7 separate regions of the Homo sapiens genome follow, and regions 1, 2, 3, 5, 6 and 7 are each linked to region 4. Evidence: promoter capture Hi-C in 16 types of primary human blood cells and fetal thymus (Javierre and others, 2016). All regions are on one chromosome and are shown on one strand. Each heading gives the region's core, a stretch centred on a gene start or on the middle of the fragment in contact. The rest is flanking DNA. Distances are from core to core; before and after follow the strand shown.

Region 1 (3,877 bases), core at 1,239-3,738, 400 kb before region 4:
CCCCCTTAGCCAAGCTTTCTTAGCTGAGAGTGGCCAAGAGGATAGTCTTAGGAAAGACGGTGTGGATGTGCCTTGTTATCTTTGTCAAATAGGATGTCCCAGCTATGAAAGAAAGTTTTATTGAGAAAAGACAAAAATATTTTACTGAAACATATTCATCAGAAGAATAAATTCTGGAGAACTATCATATAGCATGGTGACTATAATTATAATGTACTGTATATTTGAAATGCTAAGAAAGATTTTAAATGTTCTCATCACACACACACAAAAAATTATGTGAGGTGAGGAACATGTTAATTAGCTTGAAGTCAAGCTAATTAACATAATCATTCCACACTGTGTGCAAATATCAAAACATCACATTTTATCTCATAAATACGTACATTTTTTGTCAATGAAAATAAATACACAATAATGATAAGTAATTGTAAAGTCCTCCTCTCCCAAAACAACATATTTTAATTGGCTTGATATAATAATTATAAATACCTATTAAGTACCCGTGATATATCTGACATGGTGTTAATAATTGTAGTATATACAATTTCTCACTTAATTAAAGCAACAATTCTATAGGATTCAAATGAGGAAAACAAGGCTTAGAGGGAAGTAACTTGTCCTAGTTTATACACCTAGCAAGTTAGCAAGTAGTAGGTACGTGTTCCATTTTAATTGGACTATTGAAATAGCGCCTCTCAGATGGTAATCCTACCCAGTTTCTTACTCTAATCCTGTCTTCCAACACACACACACACACACACACCCTACTTTTCTGTTATTATCACCAGAGTGATCACACTATAGCAGAGATATGGCTATGAACTCATTATTATTAAAAAGGAAACAGTGACCTACACTGAAACTCTTCTGCTAAGTAACCGTCTATAGCTTCCTACCGTCCATGGGACAACGTGCTCTGTTTGGTATCCAAGGTGCTTCATAATGTAATCCTCACACATGAACCCTTTCCTTTTCATGTATTTCATGAATCTACCAAACTTACTTTCCCTACATATCCTCAGAAGTTTCTCACATCAGGGCTTTGCTCACATGGTTTTCTAGATTTGAAACACTCTTCACCCAATTTTAAAACTGGCATTCAAACCCATTTATCTAAGACTCAGAGGAAATGTTACTTTACTTAAGACGTAAACGGGTTTAAGAAAGATTCAAATATTATCTTCCTTAACCCTTAAAAGATAAAGATAAATCCTCAAAGCGAATACCAAAAAAAGTTAGTGATGTTGGCCCCTGTGGATAAAAACAAACAAACAAACAACAAACTAAGTTACATCACAAGGTACAAATAGTAAAATCTAAAAACTGAGAAAACATGAATCCTGATTTGAGGCTTCCATTTGTCTACTATATTTTGTTGATCATTTCTGATAAGTATAATAACAGTGTTGAAATAAATGTATGTGTTCTTTGAAAATTTCCATGTCTATAGATTTTTATTGGCTATTTCACTTCTTTATTCCTTCTCAGGCTTTTATCTATAGTTAAGACATCCTAGCAAATCACTAGAACTGTTTCTAGCATGTAAAATTGTATAATAATTCTTCTATGTATGCCTAACATAGTTTGTTGTGTGGACCAAATTCATTAATTCATCCAATATACTTTTATAGCATATTTAAACATGTCAGGATTATGCTGTGAAGAAAAACATACGCTTGAGACACTTTGTACATTATTCAATCCTTCACAATATAATCAGCAGTCAAAGTGAAAGCCCTTTGAAAACTCTAAAATGTTTCACTGTGTAAGGAATTGTTAAAGTTGTGTAATGAATACTTAAAGATACATCATTAACCTTTGAGGTCAATGCCATACAACCTCCATCTGCTATCCAACAAGTGTCCTTTAGAGAGAATTGTGTAAAAAAAAATAAAAAAATAAAAAAATAAAAAATAAAATAAAAAGAATCTGTGGAAAAAGACTCATTGCTTATTAGTGTTATGTGGCATGTCTTTCTTACGTTCTTATAATTTGGTTTAGTCCTAGTTTCAACAGTGAGATTTCTCCAAAAATATAATTAGTAACATATTATTAGTAGTCAACATCTTTGAGATTTTGTAAAATATTAAATCACTGTTTAACTATAACTACAGTTGTAGTTAAAATGTGATGGATCTAGATCCACCTGTGATTTTCCTGGAGGATAGCTTTGCATGGTGATTCTGGGAGGGAAAAAGGTTCTTAACATATTACAATGAGAAAACATTGGCATCTGACTTCCCGTAGTGCTGTCAATCACTGTAAAGTACAACCTAAACCTGTTCATTAGTGTTTGCATTCAGATTTAAGTACTGGCATTACAGGTGAGGCAATAGGCTAATCAATAGAGCTTCTTTTGTGGTTATTAATTTAATATTGGTTTATGCCCACGCTGGAATCTGCCCTTACACGCATTTACTGGCAAGTGTATATTTAGACAGCACTTTTTTTTTGCTTCTCATAGTTTTAGGGATGTTTCATTTTCAGGTTCTTTCAGGATAACCATCATATGACTCATCCAATGGACATTTAATCACCATGTTTTCATTTTCTGTTCTTTGCTTTCTGTGGTACTTTCAGATCACGAATCCCTCATAGCAGCTGGTATTCTTAGGAAACAGTTTAATTTCAATGTTGGAATGAAATCAAAACAAAAATATTCTTATGACGACAAATCTGAGCCTACTCAAGGAAGTTTTTATTAACAAAAATAAAAAAGTATACATTTTAAGATTCACTTTAAATTTTTGAAAAATTTTGCAGTTTTTGGCAGAAGAGGCACATCTTGTTTTATTTCATTTCACTTTATTGTGCTTGGCAGATGCTGTGTTTTTTACAAATTGAAAGTTTGTAACAACTCTGTGTGGAACAAGGAAGGCTCTCTGCATCAGCGCCATTCTTCCAACAGCAGGTGTTCAATTTCTTGTTTCTGTGTCACATATTGGTGACTCTAGCAATATATCAAACTTTTTCATAATCATGATATCTATTACGGTGATCTGTGATCAGTGATCTTTGGTGTTTTTGTTTTGGGGCACCATGAACCACACCCATATAAGACTGAAGTAGTCGATAAATGCTGTGTGTGTTCTGACTGCTCCACCAACTGGCCATTCTCTTATCTCTTTCCTTCCACTTCAGCCTCCCTATTCCCTGAGACATCCCAATATTCAAATTGAGCCAGGCCAGGCACTGTGGCTCATGCCTGTCATCCCACCACTTTGGGAGGCTGAGGTGGGCGGATCACTTGAGGTCAGGAGTTTGAGAGCAGTCTGGCCAACGTGGCAAAACCGTATCTCTACTAAAAATACAAAAATTAGCTTGGTATGGTCCCAGCTACTCAGGAGGCTGAGGCAGGAGAATCGCTTGAACCTGGGAGGCGGAAGTTGCAGCGAGCCAAGATCGCACCACTGCACTCCAGCCTGGGTGATAGAGTGAGACTCTGCCTCAAAAATAAATAAATTTAAAAAAATCAAATCAAATAGAGCCAAACAATAACCCTAAAATGGCCTCTAAGTGTTCACATGAATGGAAGAATCACGTGCCTCTCACTTTCAACCAAAAAATAGAAACGATTACATGAGGGGAAGACATGTTGAAAGCTGAAATAGGCCCAAAGCTAAGTCTTTTGCTCCCAGCAGCCAAATTATGATTGCAAAGGAGAAATTACTGAAGGCTATTAAAAGTGCCATTCCAGTGAACACACAAATAAAAAAGTAAATCTGCGTTATTGCTGGTATGGAGAAAGTTAGAGAGGTCTGGATAGAGTATCAAACAAGTCACAACATTCCCTTAAACCAAAGCCTAATCCAAAGCAAGACCGTACTATGATCCACAAGACACTACAAACTGAGGTGAGGAGGCTAAAGAAGAA
Region 2 (4,017 bases), core at 172-2,671, 290 kb after region 4:
TTTGTCAGATTCTACAGAGGGAACTTGGGGGAACTAATTCTGTTTCCTTATAATTGAAGTCAAAGGTAGACTCAGTGAGTGAGACTGAGGGAGAAAAAGAAAAGTGGAAATGAATGTGATTTGACATTAGATTATGAGTTTTAATTTCTGTCTTGCCATCATGCAATCTTAAGCAAGTCATAATTCCTTTAAGACTCAATGTTAATTTTTTTTAAAATGGAGATTTTAAATAATAATCTCACAAGATTACGTTAAGAATGAAATTATCATGTCGACTATAAAGTGATATACCAGTTTAGATGTTATTAATTATTAAGGCATAGTCATTTGCACAAAATTCTAAGGTGCAAAATAATTTGATCACTCCCTTGGACTTCCTTTTGATGGGCTTTCAATACTGTTGTATTTATTCAAACATGTATGAAGTCTATATGTATGATTTACCATTCCTTTGGAGACACAAGAAATATGTGGAATGCATCATTAGGTAAGAGCAAAATTCTCAAATCAGAAATTTGAGACTAACTGAAAAATGAGAAAGTTTGGGAGAAAAGGCAGAGTGATGTGGTTATACAAAAAAGGGAGACAAACTGTGACTTCATTTTAGAGAACAACAGAAGTGGGAAGGAGATGGTGGTGGCAACTGAGACTTTCAGAAGAAAAAATTTCATTCTGAATATGGCAAAATGGGAAACCAAATGGTGCAGAAGTAGAGACAATTCTTGCAATTGAATAAAATAACTGGTCAGAAATATTCATCCAACTAACAAATGGTTTCCAGGGACCCTTCACTGCAGCTTACTGTGTAGAATTTAAACTAAGTAACTTAACAATTGATAACATAACCTGTATGTACCCTTTGTCCCCTGCCCCCACTCCAAATATTACTGCTAATTAGAAGCACATGTTGAAGGAAAAACTCTAATAAGACATTCCGGTATAAGATCTGGGTTTGCTTTAAATCCCCCAAGCAGCCTAAAGCCCAACAGAAGGTATTTAGCCTTTTGCCTTTTGTTTAAATGGAGATTATTTTGAGTTATCAATAGTGCAATACTCCCATCCTGCTGTCCTTTAGTGTAAATTAAGGCAAAGGACATGATAACAGTATCAATAAAAGAGCAAAAGTAAAAAATAAAACGCATAAGATTATTAATGGGTGACAGAAAATTGCTATATACATCATAGCTGGTAGATTAAAAGGGAGTGACAAAGAGATGTCCTGAGAAATTTATTCAAGGGTTTACAAGAGAAAAAAAAATGAAGGATTTAAGACTGTTTAATCTTTAAGAATTTAAAACTTTTAAATATCTCTTTAATAAGCTTTATATTCACATAACATTTTAATAGGATTTTATATAGACTAACTCAATTGTCAAATATACTGAGGCAGGTTGGGTATCAGGTATCCTCTAATACCTATTAAATAGAATGAACCAGAGAAGTTAAAATATTTTTGTAAAGTTATGCAGCAAATAATGTGGGAGCCAATATTTAAACTCTGGTCTTCTGATATAAAAGCTTTTGTTTTATGAACTATTCCTAGTTGCCAAGGAAGCAATTACAAACAAAAAAACCAAAAAAAAGAAAAGAAAAAAATAGCCATTTGGGGGCAGATGCGGTGGCTTACACCTGTAATCTCAGCACTTCAGGATGCTGAGGCAAGCAGATCACTTGAGGTCAGGAGTGTGAGACCAGCCAGACCAATACGGTGAAACACTGTCTCTAATAATAATACAAAAATTAGTCGGGTGTGGTGGTACATGCCTGTAATCCCAGCGACTCAGGAGGCCGAGGCAGGAGAATCGCTTGAATCTGGGAGGCAGAAGTTGCAGTGAGCCGAGATCACACCACTGCACTCCTGCCTGGGCAACAGAGTGAAATGCCGTCTCAAAAAAAAAAAAAGAAAAGAAAAGAAAAGAAAAAGCGATTTGGCCAGATATTTTTAAATATTTGAAATTATTTAATGTAATTTAAATAAACATACAGCAGAATTCCCATTTTTGATGTATAGATCGATTCCCATCAACAAATTCAGTCATGTTGACCACCACACAGAAACTAAGATACAGAGCAGTTACGTCACCACCCAAAATTCCCTCATGCAGCCCTTTTATAATCAACCCCTCCCTCCTTCCCAATCTGTGACAACCATTTGTTTGTTCTTTCTTCCTCAAGTTTTGCCTATTGCAAAAGTCTATTAATGGGATCAAACAATATGAATCATTTTGTTTCTGGCTTCTTTCTGTTTTATGGGTGACCAAAATCACATGGAGAGTATGTTATTATTTTCCTATGTTTTTTACATATCTGAAACTGTGCAATACTGCAGAAACTTCTGAATTATTGTGTTTATTGTGAAACTCAATGTCCAAATAGTGAGACAAATTATTGTTCAAATTCTGTCGCTTAAAGATTATACCTAATATGCCTAGAGAAAGTACTACCACCAAAAGTGCAAGTCCAGCTGTCATCTTTTTTAGGTGTCTCTCTCATTACTAAACCTGACTTTTGACAGAGTTTATGAGGAACAATTATTCATATGTGATTATTTCAACTATCCCTTTATCTAGTCCTTTGGACAGGATTATTTATAAAAGAGGTCTATGCACATTTTTAGATGTCTTTATATCATGTTGAGTCTTATCTTGCCACAATAACTACATTAAATCTTTTTTTATAACATCGTGTTCCGTCTGAATATTGTTTACGAAAGTATTCTGTAACGTGAGCTTGAAATTGTAGCAAAACCCATGTTAGGAAAGTAAATATCTAAAAGCAGAAAATATAAGCTTCCCTGGTTGCCAAGAAAACCACTGTACGCAAATTTCTGTTTATTAAATATTTGGCGGTAAAATAACAAAATTGTTGAAAAGAGGAGATTGTCTTACCCTGAGCAATAGGATATGAATATCATCCATTTTTTGTTGGAAAAATAAACAACAACATGGGATTTTAGGATAGGAGGTCTTCAGCAGTCTCTTGCAAATAGCTTAAATCATGGGGATTAAAAGGCAGCAAAACCAGGTACAGATAACTTGGTAAGAATAGTTACTTCTTTTGGGACTTTTACAGCCAAGTTTACAGGACCAGCCACATCCAAATGGAATGAAGGCCGTATGGTTTGCAAATGAAGATTGAAATGCTACGGCCAAACAATACAGAATGGATCCTGAGCTCATAAAGAAATAGACATGTACTAAACATGAGATTACTGAAAGAAAAAAATCATAAGTTTTCTTTTTGCAGTCATAAATGACAAAAATGTTTAAAAATAATAGATAATTTTCTCTCAAGGAGTATGAGAAAAGTACCCAGTTGGTTCTAGATATTTTATTTTCTTTCACAGATTTCTCTCTATATTTTTCTAAATTTCCAATATTAATTTTAATAAAGGTATATATTCTGGTTATTTTGAAAAGAGAAAACACCACAATATTACTAATTCAGTTAAATCAGGAGTCCACAACCCCCAGGTCACGGACCCGTACAAGTCTGTGGCCCATTAGGAACTGGGCCACACAGCAGGAGGTGAGCGGCAGGTGAGCAAGCGACTGTATTTACAGCTGCTCTCCACCGCCTGCATTACTGCCAGAGCTCTGCCTCCTGTCGGATCAGCAGTGGCATTAGATTCTCTTAGGAGCGCGAGCGCTATTGTGAACTTTGCATGTGGGGGATCTAGGTTCCGAGTTCCTTATGAGATCTAATGCCTGAGGATCTGTCACTGTCTCCCATCACCACTAGATGGGACCGTCTAGTTTCAGAAAACAAGCTCAGGACTCCCACTGATTCTACATTATGGTGAGTTGTATAATTATTTTATTATATATTGCAATGTAATAATAATAGAAATAAAGTGCACAATAAATGTAATCCACTTGAATCATTCTCACACCATCGCCCTACCCTACCTCCTCACAATCCCCACCGTGGTGCATGGAAAAATTGTCTTCCACGAAATCCTGGCACCAAAAAGGCTGGAGACCGCTGAGTTAAATCACACCTACCAAAAAAGCCAAA
Region 3 (4,255 bases), core at 63-2,562, 510 kb before region 4:
GGCAAATACTAAACTCAATACTACTAATTAGTAATATCTTCTAAGCATCTCTAAGCTTATTTTTTTGACTGTCAGTGTCTTTGGGGGTTCACAATACTGCTGATAATCTGACCAAAATACTGTATTTTAATGAAATCTAAGTAACTATTTGAATGTATCTTTGTCTTTTATAATTTGGAATTTTTATCTATTATACTTAATCTTGTAGGGTAGAGTCTTCTATATCATTATCCATTACTACATTTATTGGAAATTGATGTTGTCATCTCAGCACAATCTCCCTTCAAAAAATATTTTTTGTTGCATGAATTGGTTAGAGGGATGAGGTCGTATAACAGTTTGATAAGGACACCTGAAAATACGGGAACATTGATTTGATTAAATGTAGAAAAGGGAAGAGTGCATTTCAGATCTCCCATTAGCAGGATTATCTATCAAGTTGAACCATTTAAAATTTATATAAGACAAATATGGTCTAATATTCTCAGTTTTATATAATTTAATCTATCTAAATAGGCATGTAATGTACTTTTATGGAAAAATATCTGTGAAAGTGCTTAATAAATTAGGCTGGCAAGCAAAGTGTATAAGCAAAGAGCTAGAAGTAACCACTTTACATTTGATACTAAATAATTAAATATTTCTTTTCTGAGACTGACTACCTCAATTGTAAAATAATGCTGTTTAATTTCAACATAGACGGCTAATTCAGATCATTTTTAACCATTAAATACACTTTAGAGTTTAGTCCAAATATAGGGCTGGTAATCATTAGAAAATCAAACCAACCTAATCAACAGTGTGCTTGTTACTTAAAAGTTCCGTGTCAGATTTTATTGGATAGAAAAGTTTTACTGCCCATATGCAAACAAACACCTTCCCTCGGAGTTCTTCAATAGACTCTGTAGTATTGCAAATACATCAAAGAGTGAACTTATAGTTATATGCAGTCCAGGTAATAAAACAAAGCTTTAAACTCAAATAACTGCCTTATTTCTGTGAATTGCTGCTGTCGTTTTTGGAACAATACTTTAAAGGAATATAAATATTTGCTGCTTATCTTTAAACGACTCCATTGAAAAAGCTGTCATTTACATGTATATTAACCAGGTCAGTGCACACCGGTGTACAGTGATCTACTTTTATTCAAATGGGTGCAATCAAATGTAACAGTGAAATAAGGAGGCACTTGTAAGCAGTTCCTCATATTCCTCTAGTACCTTGGTTAGTGATGAAAACATTTATTGGCATTTAGAAAAGGACTGCTAAAGGAAAAATCAATACACTAATTAATTATGAAATGGATTTTCAGTGATTACATAGTCCCTCTTATGTATACAACATATCGCCATTTAGCAAACACTTTCAAATATATTCAATATAACTGATATTCAGAAGATGTATGATATACTGGGATGTGAATGAAATTTAGAATCAGAAGACAAAAATTTGAGTGCTGTCTTTGTCATTTTTTCTGTTTAGATGAACTTGAACAAGTAAACAGTCTGAGTCTTCATTTTCTGTATCCATAAATGAGGTTAGTAAAAATCTGTCATAAGCATTGCTGCAAGAATTAAGTGAAGAACTGCATGTAAAAAGTGATGTATGAAAACAATTCAAATGTTAGAAGTTTCAATTCAAGATGAACAAGCTTCAACTTTGAAAATTAAGTTATGTGACCAAAGTGCACAGCTACAGACCTAGTTTTCCAGATGAAGCTTGCAATAATATCATTTATCATTTTATCATGCTTATGAATGCCTTATGACTCATAGTATTTTATATGTTTAAATCCATTGTCCTTTAGTGAGAACATTTTATTATAAACATCATATTTTAACATTTCACTCAAAGCCTTAACTTCCCCTATATTAATACTCATTGCAGACCTCTGTGAGTGTTTTGTATTCACGAAAGGAACAAGGGCCAGATACCCAAGTTTTCCTTCTCTGGCTACAGAATGCAAGAAAATGTGAATGCTCAGATCCAGGAATTAGTTTTCAAGAAAAGTTCCTTTTCAAGCCTTATCATCAGTTCATAGATTAATCCTTTTTCATCTGAGCCAACTTATGTCACTTCTGATTTTTAAACTTATTTTCCTAGCTTTGTGCAAGCATTTGTAACTGGTCCTCACTATCATTCAGATATTTGTTAATACCTACTCTATGTTGAAGTCTGTGCTAAATACAGTGAAGAATACCAGGAGAGATTAAAATTTAAAATAACACCTTGGCCTCTGCAGACTTGAGGAGAATTGTCAGTAGTTATTCTTTGGTAGCTCAGTAAACAGCAAGAAGAGCCTCTGATCCTTCAGAACACTAAATCTAAACACATTAAACTACATCCTCTTTTAAACTAGCTTTTCTTTGAACAATAGTCTTTAAAAAAAAACTTTAATTTTACATTCAGGGGCACATGTGCAGGTTTGTTACCAAGGTAGACGTGTGTCATAGGGATTTGTGGTGCGAATTATTTCATCACCCAGATAATAAGCCTAGTACCCACTAGTTATTTTTCCCGATCCTCTCCTAAGCTAGTTTTATTCAGAAATATGTGGATGTTATACTCATACATAAATGTATTAATAATGCCATATGGCAGTTTTAGTTTTTAGACTTACTTTTTTTATAGATTGCAACTGGACACGACCTTTTCCTCCAAAATTCCTTATGTCTTTTTATTTATGACACTCAAATTACACTAGATTCTCATGTTTTTCTCTCCCACAAAACCTTGCACATTTTCTTAACAGCAATTCCTACATTATGTAGTGATCAATTTGTTTAATGTCTATCACTTTCACTAGAGTGTGAGTTCCTTGAGAGCAGGGAAGTTCTTGATATTATTCATCTTTCTCCCTCGGTCTCACGATAGTGATTAGAAAGAGTACTGTTCCACAACTATGTCTTAAAAGACTGTGGGGCATCTAACGTGTTCGTGTCAATGGACTTTCTTTCCATTAATATTCCTTGCACCATTCTGTCAGAGAAGAATTCAAGGAAAATCTGATATTTTAGAAGCAAACAAAAACCTCACCTTGTGCTCATAGAAAAGTTTGATATAGAATGGAAAAATGGGTTTAAAATACCAAGTTTTCACGGCAATCATAAAGGAAAAGTTAAAGTGTTTGAAATTAAACAAACTCCACCTTTCCTCACACATTACTTTTAATTGCAAAAATCGCAATTAATTTTGCACCAACCTGATCCTATGTAGCAGTCTTCCCAGTGCGATTTCAGCCCAAGCTGAGCTGTAACTAAACTTACTCACACATATGGCAGGCTGCTTCCTCTTTTGGTGTTGCTGGCAGAGACTTCAAAGATTTTAGAGACTTGTTCCATCAAGAGGACATTTGTGATTCTTTTTGTGAGGGTAAATTCTGATGGGGAAAGGTGAGAATGACATTTCAAAGCATGGTAGTACAATAGGAATGGTCAAGGATTTTTTAGTAGACGTCACTCTGGTTTTCAATGTAGGAAATATAAATATGGAAGTCTAGTGGCCTAGAGGATTACTCTCTCCTGTAAGGGATTTTGCATTCTTTTTATTTTTTCTTCTGAGTTGAGCTTCTCTGGATCTCTTTGGAATGTGCTGTTCATTTAAGCATGGATGCACTCAGCAGCAGTTTGTGGCCCGCTGGGCTGTTTTACTTCCCCAGCCAGGTTGTGCTTGCCAGCTTTTGTTGAGAAATAACAGGAGGTCATACACGATGTCAAGAAAATGTTGGCATGGTTAGAGAAACAAGTATTGTATTAGTTGCAATGAATTTAGACCTACTGATGGTAGGATTAAAGAAATCTGTGTCTGGCACTCTCTGCAGCTTGAAGCAGCTTACAATGAGCATAGCCTGGACACTAGAGAGGCTCAGCAAGCTGACTGGTACCTGGCCTTCTTGACCAAGAAGGATGTACCCAAAGCGTGTGGTAACTAAGTGAAGGTCTCCTAAGACACACGTAAGACCATAAGGTGGTACAGATAGAGGTGACGAAGAAACAAGGAAAAGAGAAGGAAGGAAGGAAGGAAGGAAGGAAGGAAGGAAGGAAGGAAGGGAGGAAGGATGGAAGGAAGGAAGGAGAAAGAGGAAAGAGGAGAGGAAAGGAAGGGAAAGTGGAAAAAAGAAAAGGAAAGGGGAAAAAAGGAAAGGAAGGAAGAGAAGTAGACAAAACTACATAAAATATCTATCTTTTGCAGTTACAAATTGAACTAAAATAGTAATAGCAACTCTGGATTGACTGTTTTACCATAGGTGAGTCAT
Region 4 (4,398 bases), core at 1,685-4,184:
AGCAAGAAACACATGATAAGTATGTCTAAGCTCTTCCAAAGAAGAAAAAAAAAATTGTCCTCGATTGATTTGGGTCACACAGAGAAATACTGCAGGAGAGCAGTCAAAGGCATGGACACGAGCGTCAAATTATATAGTTTGGAATTCCAGCGCTGCCATATTCAATATGAACTTGGATAAGCAGCCTGACCTCTCTGTGTCTGTTACCTGCACGTAGAGATAGCATATAAAACTCTGACCTCAACACTTGATGAAAATATACAGCAACAAGTGCCAGCTGTCATTACTTAGAGTCATAAAGCTTTAGACTTGGGTGACTTTCAGAAATTAACCCCATCCCTTTTATTGGTAGGGAAACTGAGGAAGAAAAGAAGTAATTTGTCTGAGGGTACATAGCAGATTTTACTACTCAACAGGCTAGGACACTTACCATACCATTGCCAGCCTTTCTAGAGCCTTCTTGGTCTCAGTGCTGCCTTTACTGTTTATGTTTCAGATATGAAAGGCCAGTATTTGGAAGCTGTTTTTCCTCTTAAGTTGATAGATTTATGCTGAGCCATTATCTCACCTGTCCTCTGCACTTAAGCTAGGAGCAGAAAACTAGACAGGATTAAGGATGCCTAGAGATGGGCCTGAATCACAGTGAAGCAAACAGCATTCACCTCAGCCTCACAAACATGGTTGTGGGTAGTGAAGTAATCAGCCTCGCACAGACCTGAAATACAAAACAAAAACACGGGACCCTGCTGACCACAGAACTCATCCCTCCGATTCCCCGCTAATTGTAGGTTGATAGAAACCAGTTGTAATGCAGAGTAAAAGGGCCTGTGCACAAATATATTTACTGAACGCAGAAAATGTCATTTATTTGTTTATTTATTTATTTATTTATTTGTTGAGATGGGGTCTTGGTCTGTTGCCCAGGCTGGAGTGCAGTGGCACGATCTGGGCTCACTGCCACCTCCGCCTCCCGGGTTCAAGCAATTCTCCTACCTCAGCCTCCCAAGTAGCTGGAATTACAGGCGCCCACCACCATGCCCGGCTAATTTTCATATTGTTAGTAGAGACGGGGTTTCACCATGTTGGCCAGGCTGATCTCGAACTCCTGATCTCAAGTGATCCGCCTGCCTCAGCCTCCCAAAGTGTTGGGATTACAGGCGTGAGCCACTGCGCCTGGCCTGAGCCACCGTGCCCGGGTGTTTAATAATACTTTTAATTCTTAAATGTTTGGAACAAAAAAAAGAAGAAAATGAGATTATATGATTCACATGGTACTGCTCTAGTCCTGCAGCAAATTCCAGTGCCTTCTCTGATCAGGGAATTTTTACAAAATCAAATGTGATTGATACATCTTCATCCACACTGACAGGCACCCACAGAACATCCACTGAGACCTAGACAGTAGTACTGACTGCAGGCCCTAACCCTGGGATACAACACGAACATGGTCTTGTCCTAAACAGCTGATAGGAGAAAGACAGTATTCACTGTGTTAATCTCAGTCCAAATTAATTGTCTTCATCTAGCTCCTGTCTTACATTCTTCATTGCTTGTCCCTAAATCCTAGCACGGCCAAGTCCTTTAGTTTTAAGCCTACATGAAAGGCATCCAGGGAGAGCCAGGTGGAAATGAAGGTGGTGGGGCTTGGCCTTTCTTCCCATTCCCACCTTGAGAATTTGCACCTTTCCTTCTCTGTCACCAACTAGCAGTTGCCATGGTATATAAGGGTATATCTTATTTTATCCTTAATATGTTTATTTCTGCTTCCAAGATGCTTCTGTTTTTACTAAAACCATAGAAGCTTCCCCTCCCACCACACTCGCACCACACACAAAAAGCAGTTGGAAAAACATTTCAATGATTCCTAACCACAACAGCACTTCTGACTAACTACAAAGAAGGAAGCTTTGGAGAAACATAGAGGGAAACTACAGTCCCAGCGAGACCGAAACCGGAGGGGTGAGATAGCCAGTCACAGTAAAAGCTGGAACCAGAGCCCAGACTTCCTCAACTCCAGCCCAGTCCTTTTGCCACTGGGGAAACGCTGTTTACATGTCCTCACCTGCGACGAACAACATTTGATAACTCACAAAATTAACACCTTTCAGGGAGAGCGGGGCACTGGCCAGGTCCCTCTGATAATGAATTGCTGCTCTAAGACATAACTGCTGTGGGGAGGAGGTTGGTGTTTGGCGGGGAAGGGCTGCTAGCCTGCAGTTTCATAAGGACAATAATACATCAAAAAGGACAATCATAGATCAAAGGGGATATTTTGGGTCAACTTGATATGTAGTGGAAAGCAGATTGGGAGGGGAGCCAAGTACTGGATATGCTCCGTGCGTGAGTGTGTCTGTGTGTGTGTGTGTGTGTGTGTGTAAATCATGTTGCTCTCTGGGTCTGTTTCCCAATCTGTAGAGTGTAAAAGTCTCTGAGGCTCCTTGCAGAGACAAGTGATGGAACGACCTTGACAGAAGAGAGCAGAGAGAGGAAAGAAGGGGGAGGAAGCCAAGCAAAGGAGAGAGAAATGGTGTGATGGGGGAGGAGACGCGGAGTTGGGTAGAAATGCCTTTTAATAAGATATTGGGAAAAAAGTATTAAACCTAAAACTGCAGCTCTTGAAGGATCATTTTTTCATCTTTGTGTTAGGATTTACAAGTACAGTGCATAGTAATTTTTGGATAATTGGAGTGAATGAATGAAAAGCGTGAAACGCCTTACAGGAGCGAGAAGATCCACGAGAGAAAGCGAGCAGGGACGCAGCTCTGGTGCCTGGTCCTGCCGGGTGGTCCCCACGCCGCCAGCCGCGCGTTCCCCAACCGGGCGCTCCCGGCGCCCTCTCGGTGAGCCGCCCTGAAACCGCCAGGGGGCGCTCCCCGGCTGCCGGGGCTGAGGCGGGCGGAGCTGCTTTAAATCGCGGCGCCCAGCGGTTCTGCGTCTCAGTTCCCGAGCCTGGGAGCAACCGCAGCTTCTAGTATCCAGACTCCAGCGCCGCCCCGGGCGCGGACCCCAACCCCGACCCAGAGCTTCTCCAGCGGCGGCGCAGCGAGCAGGGCTCCCCGCCTTAACTTCCTCCGCGGGGCCCAGCCACCTTCGGGAGTCCGGGTTGCCCACCTGCAAACTCTCCGCCTTCTGCACCTGCCACCCCTGAGCCAGCGCGGGCGCCCGAGCGAGTCATGGCCAACGCGGGGCTGCAGCTGTTGGGCTTCATTCTCGCCTTCCTGGGATGGATCGGCGCCATCGTCAGCACTGCCCTGCCCCAGTGGAGGATTTACTCCTATGCCGGCGACAACATCGTGACCGCCCAGGCCATGTACGAGGGGCTGTGGATGTCCTGCGTGTCGCAGAGCACCGGGCAGATCCAGTGCAAAGTCTTTGACTCCTTGCTGAATCTGAGCAGTGAGTGCACCCCCACCTCACAGCGGCCGTCCAGAGGCCCCAGTCCCCCTGCAGCTCCCTTATGGGCTCATTCTGTTGTGTGATTCCATGGTTATCAGTCTTCAGTTGATCAAGTCTTCTGATCATGTGCTCTGTCATAAGGAAATGAAGAGAATCCTGGTTTGAGGAAAGCGACGCCCAGGCATAAGCTCTAGTTTTGCCTCTAACTCCCTGGGTGACACTTCTGCCACTCTAGGTGTGGCTTCATCCTAAATTCCTATGCTGGTGGTTCGAGTTGAGGGAGTGAAGGCCAAACTTGAACTTGAGCTCTTAGACCTCTCCTAGGCATTCCGAGATTTGGGGTAAATTGAGGATTGGTAGAGTTCAGACAAGAAAATGGGATGACTGAAAAAGTTTGAAGCCTGGTAACTTCTCAAGTGTGCACGCTTAAATAAATAATCCTCAAGTATTAGATATAACTTTTTAACCTTTAATATGATTTTTTCATAGTAAAAGTTACATTCCTACTGGAAATGTCCTATCTAAGTGTCTTCTGCTTATGCTTGAGGTTGATTCTTTTAATTTATAAGATCCAGTTAGTGCAGGGAGGCCCCTTGCAAGACTCTTTGGAGAAGCTGCTTGAGATTCCCCCGAAGTTTTAATTTTCAGACCCAAGGTCTTCTGTAGAGGCTGACGGTGTAGTGCTATCTTGGAAAGAGAAGGTTGGTGGCAGGTGGGGAAAGGCTGACAAGAAAGGTTCTAAATAACCTGCGCAACATAATACAAAGAAAAAAGTAAAGGCACTGAAGGGAAATGCAGCAAAATAGTCATAGCTGATGAAATCAGAGGTCAGCTGGGAGTGGAAGGCAGTGAGAGAGAAAGAAGAGGTGGGTCTTCCTTAGGTTTCCATCTTCCACAAAGAAATTTCTGTGTAATGGATGTTCAGTGACCCCCTGTAAAACTGGAAAGGATTGTATAGAGAGACATATTTCTAAGGATGGTGGGAAGAAGGATAATAGGATA
Region 5 (4,411 bases), core at 1,008-3,507, 320 kb after region 4:
TTGGACCTATGTGTGTGTTCTTGAATAGGCGGGTGGTAAGTTTTAAAACTTAGAGAAGTTCAGTTTCTCTGGAAAGAGTTGGTATAATGGCAGAGAGGAAGAAGTGATGCCAGGAAAAACAGAGCCAAATCCCAGAGTTCTTGAATGTCATGATGTGGAGTGTCTGAAATCTGTTTTCTAGTCAATGGATGACTACTGGAGATTTTTGAATAGTCAATGTGTGCTTTAGCAATCCGTCCTTTATTACTAGCTATGGAAAACTCTTTCTGTGTCAGAGGAACCTCATTCACTCACAGGTTCAAGGACAGTGTAACTTCTGAACGTCAGCAGGCTGTTGATTTAGTCAATGTTCATTTCTTTGTCCATACAGTATGACTACCACGTAGTCATGCTTCTGGGCTGGCAAGAGAAAATGTTTGCCTTAGTTCTTCACAGCTTGAGAGGAAATGGCCCTAAGCTTCTTGAAGGCATTTTTACCAGTATTTCTGACATCTCAGTGGCCTCCCCTAAACGTCAATACCATCTTCATGTCAGATTATTCCCCTTTTCTCCATTGTTCTTTATTTCACAGTTTATTTTTCTAATGCATAGAGTTACCCCCATATTAGACTTACTCGCTCCTGTGGTTTGTTTTAATTAGGTCTTAAAGGAAGTCCAGTTTGGAGCCTTTAACTGTAGTGTGCTGTTGGTTTGTTTCATTGGAGGAGTGGGTAGGTCCTTCCTTAGCTGAAACCTAGTACTGACTATGCCTTGTAATAACCTCCATCCAATCATATGACATTATATGTAGCATGCACATGTTTATGTGGACTTTTCTTACCACTTTGGATGTGTGTATTTATACAATGGAAGACAGAGGTATCAAGCTTCCAGTTAAAACAGTGGTTTATTTTATAGACCCTGGCAGCAAATTCTAGTTTCCTAAACTGGTTCACAATAATTTAAAAGCCAGGGCCAGTTCATGAAGTTTTATGGTTCAGCCTTTAGTCATGGAATCTTTTTTTATAGATTGTAGTATCTTCAATTCTGGACTATAAAGGAGGAAAGCACCAAATAAGCAAAACGTCAAATTTGAGAAAAGGACCCAGTTTGTTGACATTGACTGTTTTCAAGAGCTACGGAATCACATTCATCGTGATAACCACATTGGAAGCTCTCAGTATGAATGATGATTTCAGAGAAGTTTTTATTAAATGTACAAACTTTTAGTACCTTATAGGAGGGGTCCCCAACCCCTGGGCCATGGATCAGTACAGTCCTGTTAGGAGCGGGGCTGCACAGCAGAAGGTGAACCTTACCACCTGAGCTCTGTCTCCTGTCAGATCAGTGGAGGTCTTAGGTTCTCATAGGAGTGCCAACCCTCTGGTGAAGTGTGCAAGTGAGGGATCTAGGTTGTGTGCTCCTTATGAGAATCTTGCGTGATGATCTTAGGTGGAACAGTTTAATTCTGAAACTATCCCTGCAACCCATCCATGGAAAAATTGTCTTCCATGAAACTGGACCCTGGTGCCAAAAAGACTGGGGACCACTGCCTTATAATTCATGAAGCATATTCACATGTAATATACCTTTGAACTTATTACAAGTTACTTCTTACAAGTTTTTTTCTCTTTTCTAAGACATAGCATAGATATACTCTGTATGTAAATAGGTAGAAAATAAAAAGATTAATATACCATATGATCCATGTCCACAGAAAGCTCTAATGGGAGAAGCAGATATACTGATGCATATATAAGGTACAGAATGGTAAGTACCAGTAAAGGAACAGGTTGAGAGTATATTGTGGTACCCAACTATGGCTACAGGAATGGGAAAGGGTCTCTTAGAGAAGGCAGGATTTAAGCTTGGCCTTATAGGACATGACATATTTCAGTAAGAAAAGACAGAGGGACAAAGATTCTCTAAGTCAGTGGAATATCCTGAGCCAAAGCATAAAGTAGGAAAATTAAGAACATAAATATTTATTTGTGTTCCATTAACTTTAACGTCTAGTGCTGTAGAATCAGAGTATGTCAGTACTAATCTGTTGTACTCATAGCTTGTAGACTGGCTATTGCCCAGAGAAAATTTTCACCAACCAGAAGCACCTACTCTATCCTCTTATATTATGTGTTCATGGGAGCTATAAACTCTACTCTTCATTAATGGGAGCAGATTCACCTCCTTGAAACAGATCATTTATATATTGTATGCTATTATTTATCTTTTTCTAGTGCTCTAGTGACTGCTGAACACATTCATATGTATTTCACAGTTGAATCCTTCCAAAATCCTCCACAGTAAATGATGGTGTATAGTTCTTTTGAGCATTTTTTCTTTAGGGAAAATTAAAGCACCAGTGTTTAAACAACTTTTTCCAGGTTCACTTGGCCAATAAATGCAAACCACACATAATTTTGAACCCATTCTTTATACCTATATAGTTATTACTATGTAGATGCATACAATTCATATTTATCTGTATTGATATGTAAGAGATTGAGAAGATTAAAGTTGAGAAAGATGAAATCCAAAATTAGTGATTTTGACAGTCAAAATAATTCTGAGTGCACAGAATTGAGGACAAAGGTAAAAGTGGCAGGAAGAGCTCATTTCAGGCAAGATTTAATGGAAGGAAAGACAGTAGCTAAAAATGTGCAATTACATTTGAAAAGGGAAAGCTTTACTATTATGGGATGTTAGGTCTTAAAACAGGGCAGTTTATGTTTTTGTGTTAAGAGTTGATTATATTTCACAAGACTGCAGGGACTGGGCACTTGTGAGTCTACTACTTCTAGTTTTTAATAATTGAGTGGCAAAATGGTCAAAAGCAGATACAGTTGAATCTTACATGCCATTCTGTGATTTTATATTGTTCAGCAACAATTAGTTTTCATTTCTTCACACTAAAATGGATTGAGCATATTTTAGATTCCACCATGAAAACGATAACTAATGTGAATTTTTATTTTTCTGATGTGAGGTAAATGGATCTCTCTATTGAAATTCTCCATGACTAAAGCATATGTAAATATGTGAAGTGGGCGGATCACAAGGTCAGGAGATCGAGACCATCCTGGCCAACATGGTGAAACCCCATCTCTACTAAAAATACAAAAATTAGCCGGGCATGGTGGTGTGTGCCCATAGTCCCAGCTACTTCGGAGGCTGAGGCAGGAGAATCGCTTGAACCCTGGAGGCAGAGATTGCAGTGAGCCAAGATCGCGCCATTGCACTCCAGCCTGGCAACAGAGCAAGACTCCGTCTCAAAAATAATTTTAAAAATGTGTTAAAATGGGTAAATTAATTCCATTTTTTAAAAATATATCATTGCTTGTTACATGGAGATCATTGTATTAAGTGGTTTAGGAGACAGTTGGCAGTGTCTGTGTAGTGGTGGTTCAAAATTCTTTTTTATTAATGAGAATCAAAGTTGTAAGTTTGGAATCAAATATCTCAAAGCTGTGTGGTAAAGCATTTTATGTGCTGTTCTTAGCATCTTTATGCATTGGAATAATTTATCCTTTTAATTTTTTTAAAAGTTTTGTCTTATTTTTAATTGACACATAATAAGTATACATAATTACGGGTACAGTGTGATGTTTCCATATGTGTATTCATTGTATGATGATTAAATCAGGGTAATCAGCAAATCTGTTGCCTAAAACACTTATCATTTATGTTGGTGACATCATTAAAAATGCTTTCTTCTAGCTATTCTGAAATATACAATACATAATTGTTAGCTATTGTTATCCTACTGTGCAATAGAACACCAGAAATTATTCTTCTTCTTTAACTATAACTTTGTACTCTTTGACCAACCTCTTCCTGTCTCTCCCTTTCCTACATTTTCCAGCCTCTGGCAATCACCGTTCCACTCTACTTCTATGAGATCAACTGTTTCAGATTCCATATAAGAATGAGATCATGTGGTATTTGTCCTTCTGTGTCTGGCTTATTTCACTTAACATAATATCCTCCAGATTCATCCATGTTGTTGCAAATGATGGGATTTCATTATTTTTTATGGCTGAATAATATTTCATTGTGTATATGTACCACATTTTCTTTATCCATTCATCTGCTGATGGGCACTTAGGTTGATTTCATGTCCTGGCTATTGTGAATAGTGCTACAATAAACATGGGAGTACAGATATAGCTTCAACATACTGACTTCATTTCCTTTGGATATATACCCAGCAGTGAGATTGCTGGATCTTATGGTAGTTCTACTTTTAATTTTTTAAGGAAACTCCATACTGTTTTTCATAATGGTCTTGCTAATTTATATTCCTACCAACAGTGTATAAGGGTGCCCTTTTCTCCACTTCCTTGTCAACACTTGTTATCTTTTATCTTTTTGTTAATAACCATTCTAACTGGAATGAAGTTGTATTTCATTGTGATTTTGACTTGCATTTCCC
Region 6 (3,820 bases), core at 593-3,092, 480 kb before region 4:
GGGGTATCATCCGCTCAAGTGGAAGTTTGGAAGTATTCCTTCTCCTCTATTTGTTGAAATAGTTTGAGTAGGATTGCTATTTGTGCTTTTTAAAATGTTAGGTGTAATTCAGCAGTGAAGAAATCAGGTCCTGGGCTTTTCTTTACTGAGATAATTTTATTATTGGCTTTGATCTCATTACTTGTTATTGGTCAGTTCTGATTTTGGATTTCTTCCCGGTTCAATCTTCATAGATTGTAGGTATCTAAGAATTTGTCCATTTCTTCTAGATTTTCCAATTTATTGGCATATATTTGCTCATAGTAGCCACTAGTAATCCTTTGAATTTCTGCAGTATCAGTTGTAATGTCTCCTTTTTTATTTCTGACTTTATTTGAATATTCTCTCCCCTACTCTCCTTTTTTTCTAGTTAGTCTGGGTAATCTTTTGTCAATTTTGTTTAACTTTTCAAAAAATCAACTTTTTGTTTTATCTTTTGTATTTTTTATTTCAATTTCATTTATCTCTGCTCTGATCTTTATTATAATATTTCTTTTCTTCTAATTTGGGGTTCAGTTTGCTCTTGCATTTCTAGTTATTTAAGATGTATTATTAGGTTGTTTACTTGAAGTTTTTCCTCTTTTTTGATGTAGACCTATAGCTATAAACTTCCTTCTTAGTACTGCTTTTGCTGTATCACATAGATGTTGGCATGTTGTGTTTCCATTATCATTTGTTTACATTTTTTAAATTTCCTTTTTTATTTCTTTGTTGACCCACTAGTCATTCAGAAATGTAATGTTTAATTTCCATGTACTTGCATAGTTTCCTAAATTCCTCTTGTTATTAATTTCTAGTTTTATTCCATTGTGGTCATAGAAGATGCTGGATATTATTTCAATTGTTTTGAATGTTTTAAGACTTGTTTTGTGACCTAACATCTGGTCTATCCTTTGTGTATTAGTCTGTTTGCATGATGCTGGTAAAGACGTACCTGAGACTGGGAAGAAAAAGAGGTTTAATTGGACTTAGAGTTCCACATGGCTGGAGAGACCTCAGAATCATGGTGTGAGGCAAAAGGCACTTTTTTTTGTTTTTGTTTTTTTTTGAGACAGAATCTTATTCTGTTACCTGGACTGGAGTGCAATGGCATGATCTCAGCTCACTGCAAACTATGCCTTCCGGGTTCAAGTTATTCTTCTGTCTCAGCCTCCCGAGTAGCTGGGATTACAGGCACATGCCACCATGCCTGGCTAAATTTTTGTATTTTTTAAATTAGAGACGAGGTTTCACCATGTTGACCAAGCTGGTCTCAAACTCCTGACCTCAGGTGATCCACCCTCCTCAGCCTCCCAAAGTGCCGGGATTACAGGCATGAGCCACTGTGCCCAGCCAAAATGGAGCTTCTTACATAGCAGCAGCAAGAGAAAAATGAGGAAGAAGCAAAAGCAGAAATCCCTGATAAACCCATCAGATCTCATGACACCTATCCAGTATCATGAAGATACCATGGGAAAGACTGGCCACCATGATTCAATTACCTCTCCCTGGGCTCCTCCCACAACACGTGGGAATTCTGGGAGATACAATTCAAGTTGAGATTTGGGTGAGGACACAGCCAAACCATATCATTCTGCCGCTGGCCCCTCCAAACTCGTATCCTCACATTTCAAAACCAATCATGCCTTTCCAACAGTCCCCCAAAGTATTAACTCATTTCAGCATTAACTCAAAAGTCCACAGTCCAAAGTCTCATCTGAGACAAGGCAAGTCCCTTCCACCTATGAGCCTGTAAAATCAAAAGCAGGTTAGTTAGTTACTTCCTAGATACAATGGGTGTACAGGTATTGGGTAAATACATTCATTTGAAATGGGAGAAATTGAGCAAAAGAAAGGGGTTCCAGGGCCCATGCAAGTCTGAAACCCATCAGGGCAGTCAAATCTTAAAGCTCCAAAATGATCTCCTTTGACTCCATGTCTCACATCCAGGTCATGCTGATGCAAGAGGTAGGTTCCCATGGCCTTGGGAAGCTCCGCCTCTGTGGCCTTGCAGGGTACAGCCTCCCTCCCAGCTGCTTTCATGGGCTGGCATTGAGTGTCTGCAGCTTTTCCAAGTGCACGGTGCAAGCTGTAGGTGGATCTACCATTTTGGGGTCTGGAGAATAGTGGCCCTCTTCTCACAGCTCCACTAGGCAGTGCTCCAGTAGACACTCTGTGTGGGAGCTACAATCCCACATTTCCTTTCCAAACTGCCCTAGCAGAGGTTCTCCATCAGGGCCCTGCGCCTGCAGCAAACTTTTGACTGGGACCCAGGGGGTGGTAATTGAATCATGGGGGCTGGTCTTTCCCGTGCTATTCTCATGATAGTGAATAAGTCTCATGAGATCCGACAGATTTATCAGGGGTTTCCTCATTTTTCCAACTTCTGCCTGTTACCCAGTTCCAAAGTCGCTTCCACATTTTCAAGTATCTTTTCAGCAATGCCCCACTCTACTGGTACCAATTTACTGTATGAGTCCATTTTCACACTGCTGATAAAGACATACCTGAGACTGGGAAGAAAAAGAGGTTTAACTGGACTTACAGTTCCACACGGCTAGGGAAGCCTCAGAATCACGGCGGGAGGCAAAAAACACTTCTTACACGAAGGCTGCAAGAGAAAAATGAGGAAACCCCTGATAAACCTGTCGGATCTCATGAGACTTATTCACTATCATGAGAATAGCACGGGAAAGACCAGCCCCCATGATTCAATTACCTCCCCCTGGGTCCCTCCCACAACACATGGGAATTCTGGGAGATATAATTCAAGTTGAGATTTGGGTGGGGACAGAGCCAAACCATATCACTTGAAAATGATTAAGATGCTGAGGAGAAGAATGTGTTTTCTGAAGCCGTTGAATGAAATGTTCTGTAAATATCTATTTGATCCAATTGGTCTATATTGCAGATTAAGTCTAATGTTTCTTTGTTGATTTTCGTCAGGAAGATATGTCCAATGCTGAAAGTGAGGTGTTGAAGTCTTCAGCTGTTATTGTATTGGAGCCTCTCTTTCTCTAGCTCTAAAAATATTTGTTTTATTTCTGTGAGTGCTCTAGTGTTGGGTTCATATATACTCAAAATTGTTACATCCTTTTGCTGCATTGACCCTTTTATCATTATATAGGACTGTATTAGGCCATTTGCACACTGCTATAAGGAACTACCTGAGATTGGAAAAATTATGAAGAAAAGAGGCTTAATTAACTCACACTTCCACAGGCTTAGCAGGAAGCATGACTGGGAGACCTCAGGAAACTTAAAATCATGGCAGAAGGGGAAGGGGAAACAAGTACCTTCTTCACATGGTGGCGTGAGAGACAGCCAGCAAAGGGGGAAGTGCCAAACACTTTTAAACCATCAGACCTCAAGAGAACTAACTCACTATCATGTGAACAGCAAGGGGGATATCCACCTCCATGATCCAATCACCTCCCACCAGGCCTTCTTCCAATTCAACATGAGATTTGGACGGAGACACAAATCCAAACCATATCAGTGACCTTTGTCTCTTCTTATTGTTTTTGTGTTGAAATCTATTTCGGCTGACATAAGTATAGCAATTTTAGCTCTTTTTTGGTTTCCATTGGCATGGAATATCTCTTTCCATCCCTTTATTTTCAGTCTATGTGTGTCTGTATAGGTGAAGTATGTTTCTTGTAGGCAATGGATCAATTAGTTGTGTTCTTTCATTCACTGAACTAGTCTATGTCTTTTTGTTGGAGCCTTTAGTCCATTTACATTTAATGTTATTATTGATAAGTAAAGACTTAATTCTGCCATTTGTTATTTGTTTTCTGGT
Region 7 (4,412 bases), core at 858-3,357, 380 kb before region 4:
CTAGGCTTCTGGAAGCAGTCTTCTAACATGACACCAGAAAGACCCTAAGGGCTAAACTACAACAACCTGAATAGAGTATCTTGATCTCATCTTTCTCAAATGTGAATTCTTCATTTCCACCCCAATATCATCCCTTTGTAGTGAAAGTTTTCATCATTTGTTTTTATCCAAAACAGACAGTAAGACAAATATTCAAGTTTTCCCAAGAAATGCTGGTAGGGGAGTAGGGAGGAAGTGGAGAAGTAAAATAGGAAATGGAAGAATTCTAGCGCAGGGGGCATTATGAAGTCATGTACCACTATTGGTAACTGGAGCTAAATCTTTCTGGGGAACCCTAGAACTCTAGTGGGACAGAGTTTATGGGTATATTATCGAGTGAGAGGAAAGTGAAATATTGATCTGTCATCTTCCTTTATGTTATTTGTTGAGGGTTGTTTCTGGGGCAATAACTATTGCACTTCTAGTTTTCCTTGAGTGTAGACCCAATATGCTCCTACAGTCAGAAAAACACAAATCCACAGGCAAATAGCTGCATGTGTTCACAGTAAGACTTAAAACAAGACCGTATTTTCCAAATTATTGTTTATCATCATGGAGATACCCAAGCTATTTCCAAGTCTTGTTGTTTCTCTATCCTCAATATCTCTAGAATACAGTCAATTTCAATATCCATAATCCTACTAGGCTAGGCATATCACCATCATTTGCCTAGACTTTTGAATATGTTTCTAGATGGTCTTCATCCTTTCAGTATGCTTTCCTCCAGTTTATTCTACACATGGAAGCTTTACTATAGTTATAAAATATAAATGTGATCATGTAATTTCCCTGCTTAAAACACTGTAGTGTTACTCCAATGTCATCTGGATAAATCCACACTTGTTATCATACTTTGGACTTCTTAGCATGGTTCAGGAGGTTTATTTCAAGTATCAACCTCTCCTACACACACACACGCACACCACCTGATGTTCCTCACAGTGAGTGTCTATCATGGCTGTAAACGTGTTCCTGCCCAAGGAAGAGGATCTCTGTAACCCCTCTCATACTTCCTATTGCCCAGGGTAAGTACCTCAAAAGAGAACCGAAATGCAGGCATATGATTCCCCTAGATGACCTTACCTAGAATAATAATATAAGCTATCTCAATACACCAATACCTTTATATATAGTATTGTTTCTTGTGATGTTGGTAGCCAGTTCCTAACTTTCTTTGCTGAACCCTGGCCAAAACATGATTTTCCAATCCATTATTTTTTCAAATCTGAGAGGAGTTTCTGCAGAATCTTCCCAGACAAGCTTCTGTTGGTGAAGGGTTACATTTTGAGGGCAGCCTCTGATTTGGAAATATATTTAAAACTAGGTTACAGGAAAACAAAACAAAACTAGTTGGAATTGAGAAGGTTGTGGGTGAGTCACACCTCAAAAAAAAAATAACAATCTCTGCTTCTCATTTCTGGCTAGACACTGGACCTGCAATGCCTCCTATGAGACTACATACAGTGGGCGTGTTATGGATGGCTGAAGCACAGCACGGTACTGTTGTAACAAGAAACAGCCTCTTCTGTAAGGGACAAATTGCCGAGAGTGCAGCTTTTGGTTTGAGTAAAACAGAAAAGGAGAAAATTGACCCACATGTGCCAATAAAAAAGAACATCATTTAAATAAAAGACCCGTATTAACCATTTAAAAATGTCAGGAATTAGAGAGTAGGGGAGCACACATTCCCCTTTATGAACTCTGAAAAAAATCATATTGCACATAAATCAGCCCCTGGTTATTTCTAAAAATTAATTTCCTTCCTTCCTTCCTTCCTTCCTTCCTTCCTTCTGTTCTTTTCTTTCCTTCCTTCCTTTTATCTTCTCTTTCTTTCTTTCTTTCATGTTTCAGACATACTTATTCCTACAGGGGCAGAAGCTCCTCATGTACCAAAAAATTGTTGATATTCACTGCAAGAATGTCTTAAAAATTATTTTTAAACTATAATTTCTAATATAGTTTTCTGCTGTACTGAATGCCTGAGATGTCTCCATTCTTATGCTATAAGTATACAGTTGCAAAAGAATTGCAATTCAATTTTCAATTTCAGAAAATTTTTATTTAAGACATGCAAAGAGATCCACAGTGATTTTTTTTTTGTTTGTCTTTGTTTCTGTTTTTGTTTTTGTTTTGGAAGAAACTGCATAAGAATTATTATGTTGCAGGCATCCACCACGAGGTGGAGCAAGATAAAATTCTTTTCAAGCTCTTTTCCACACACAGCCTGCATCAAAAAGAAATAGGGTCAAAAACACACATTTTTCCTTTCCTGAATTATTATTATTTTTTCTTTCTAGCTGTTCCCTGGTAATTCTAGTACATTCAGCTCAGTAAAGGTGGTAGCTGTTAGATTTCAGGTACTGCAATTTTCTGTTTTCTTCGTATCCTCCTGCAATTCTGGCATGCTTTAGTTTGAGGCTGTGCAGGTCAGAAATTAACCTAAGGTTTTCTTCCGTGTTATGGTTAAAAAAAAAAAAAAAACCGCACTCTTAGGAGAAGTACACTTTGTCAAAGATTTTAGTGTAAATACTTTCTGCCAGAGAGCTAGAGAAGTCCCAGCTCATGTACTGGTCATGCAAGTTAGTTGTTGAGACTGGGTCACTAGGGAAAAACCGGCAGGATTTTCTAATTCAGCGTAGTATCCACGACCAGGGAGCCAGAGGTGAAGGCTCAACCAAGTCCAGGGAAAACTCAGGGGCTAAAAGTACTTGATATCTCATACATTTCCACACCAGAGATCTGAAGCAGGCCATATGCAGGGTTTCAGTTGCCAAAACTGGAGAATTAGGGGAGTAGGTAGAGCATTACGCGAAGAGGAGCCTAGGAGGCTGGGAACTCTGCCACAAGATTGATTCTACCATCGATTGTAAGCTTGAGCAGCTAAAGACATAGGGTCACACGGGCATTATCAGTCTCAGATTCACGAATGCCAAAATTTGAAGTGTTTTAAAAGCTATATAATAGAGTTGTTTTAAACCAGGTTACGAGATTATGGCTTCACAGAGTTTACCCAGAGAAGTGAGGGTAGCAGAAAGAGGGCTGAGTAAGGCAGGCTCTGGCACTTCCTCCGATTCAACTAAGGTAATTTGCTTTTCTTACTATGTTTCCATGAAAGAGTTCTCTTGAGAAAAATGTATTATTATATGTGCTTAATTATATTTATTTTATTATATATATAATTATATGTATGTTTTTGTGTAATTTCAAAGAAGAAAGATAATACTGGGATGTACGAATACAGGAAGGTACCACGCTTTGACGTTCAGTATGCTAGCTGGTGAAACTACTCTCCTCAGAAGGAAATTGACTCTCCAAAAAGCGTATGATGAAACACTGGCAGTGAAATAGATTCTGATGACTCCTGAAAGCAAACCTTACCTCCCCAGGTACACAGAATAAAAAAGAACATAGAATGAAAGAGATAATGGCCCCAAAGCCAAATATTGACCCACTTGTTACCCAAGGATAGCCTGATCATCTCCAACTTACATGTTAGAGTGCTTCAGAGTTTAAAAGGATTTTACATCTGCTATGGTATTAGAAACCCGTAACTCTTCACTGGTTCTTATTTACCTTACTGTGTCTTTGGTTATCATGTTTATTGGGTATGTCCTATCACCCTCACAAGTTTGTATGTCTCATTTACATTTATGTATTTTTCTGCTTACTCCTAGCATAGTTCCTGGTTCATAGTAGATCCCATGAACTTTTGTAGAATAAGATTATATACACACATTTTTTTGTACCTACTATATGCCTGTACATACACACACAAAAAATGTGTATATAATTGGTTTGGGTGAAGCATTATAATGTGAGGCAAAACTTGTCCTTTAGCCTTCAGCAGCAAGAGTCAATTCTTTTAATCTCCTAAAGCTGGATTAGCTAATATACCTGATCTGAATGTTTACTTGCATGTAGGCATAAGGGGTCTATTCCGGGAACAAACCAGATTCATAAGCTTCATGAGGGCAATAGCTTTGCCTGGAGCACTTCACTGACATTTACTCACAGAAGGAAACCATCCCAGCATCAGAATGGACTGAGCAAGCTGTAGGTGTTGAAAATAAAGACTCCATTTGGGAAACCCACACAGCACGCACCAACAAAAATCCCCACAGCTTGTTTTAAGCTAAATGCACAGATGTGTGTGGGGAATTCCTTAAATAACAGGGACAAGTTGTAAGTTTAGACTATGATATCACAACAAAGTGCTATGGGGGTGTGGATAGGAAAAGAAACTAAACCAGAAGCACAGGATGTTTTAAGTTGGAATTATGAGAGTAGGAGGAACTGGATACCCAACATTTAGAGACTCTCACAGTCTTTGACTTGGCATTTGAATAGATAGAAAGATAGATAAATGTGCGTGT

The links. Contacts are between HindIII fragments. The CHiCAGO score rates a contact against its expected background, and 5 or more counts as called.
Region 1: a contact is called between a fragment that was not itself captured here and the fragment with the promoter of CLDN1 in region 4, in 1 of 17 cell types (neutrophils). The highest score is 7.3, in neutrophils.
Region 2: a fragment that was not itself captured here is called in contact with the fragment with the promoter of CLDN1 in region 4 in 1 of 17 cell types (megakaryocytes); the score reaches 5.1 in megakaryocytes.
Region 3: a contact is called between a fragment that was not itself captured here and the fragment with the promoter of CLDN1 in region 4, in 1 of 17 cell types (neutrophils). The highest score is 6.2, in neutrophils.
Region 5: a fragment that was not itself captured here is called in contact with the fragment with the promoter of CLDN1 in region 4 in 1 of 17 cell types (endothelial precursors); the score reaches 5.3 in endothelial precursors.
Region 6: a fragment that was not itself captured here is called in contact with the fragment with the promoter of CLDN1 in region 4 in 1 of 17 cell types (neutrophils); the score reaches 8.7 in neutrophils.
Region 7: a fragment that was not itself captured here is called in contact with the fragment with the promoter of CLDN1 in region 4 in 2 of 17 cell types (M2 macrophages and neutrophils); the score reaches 6.1 in M2 macrophages.

The regions. Positions count from the first base shown.
Region 1 is chr3:190,717,559-190,721,435 of GRCh38, reverse strand. No RefSeq gene overlaps it. Among named protein-coding and RNA genes, the nearest start is that of LINC02013, 20 kb to the right of the region's middle. The HindIII fragment of the contact is 4,943 bases long and covers 17-3,877 here.
Region 2 is chr3:190,032,739-190,036,755 of GRCh38, reverse strand. All of the region lies in intron 1 of P3H2 (prolyl 3-hydroxylase 2), which reads left to right. Among named protein-coding and RNA genes, the nearest start is that of P3H2, 86 kb to the left of the region's middle. The HindIII fragment of the contact is 198 bases long and covers 1,323-1,520 here.
Region 3 is chr3:190,825,629-190,829,883 of GRCh38, reverse strand. No RefSeq gene overlaps it. Among named protein-coding and RNA genes, the nearest start is that of GMNC, 35 kb to the left of the region's middle. The HindIII fragment of the contact is 682 bases long and covers 972-1,653 here.
Region 4 is chr3:190,320,982-190,325,379 of GRCh38, reverse strand. It overlaps CLDN1 (claudin 1), which reads left to right and starts at 2,934. Exons shown (of 4, transcript NM_021101.5): 1 at 2,934-3,396. The coding sequence starts at 3,174. It also overlaps a transcript of CLDN16 not described here. RefSeq lists a silencer at 2,784-2,943. The HindIII fragment of the contact is 3,794 bases long and covers 1,908-4,398 here.
Region 5 is chr3:189,995,880-190,000,290 of GRCh38, reverse strand. All of the region lies in intron 1 of P3H2 (prolyl 3-hydroxylase 2), which reads left to right. Among named protein-coding and RNA genes, the nearest start is that of P3H2, 120 kb to the left of the region's middle. The HindIII fragment of the contact is 817 bases long and covers 1,849-2,665 here.
Region 6 is chr3:190,799,205-190,803,024 of GRCh38, reverse strand. No RefSeq gene overlaps it. Among named protein-coding and RNA genes, the nearest start is that of GMNC, 62 kb to the left of the region's middle. The HindIII fragment of the contact is 6,927 bases long and covers 1-3,820 here.
Region 7 is chr3:190,695,203-190,699,614 of GRCh38, reverse strand. It overlaps LINC02013 (long intergenic non-protein coding RNA 2013), which reads left to right and starts at 301. Exons shown (of 2, transcript NR_183762.1): 1 at 301-1,064; 2 at 1,465-1,670. The HindIII fragment of the contact is 1,611 bases long and covers 1,302-2,912 here.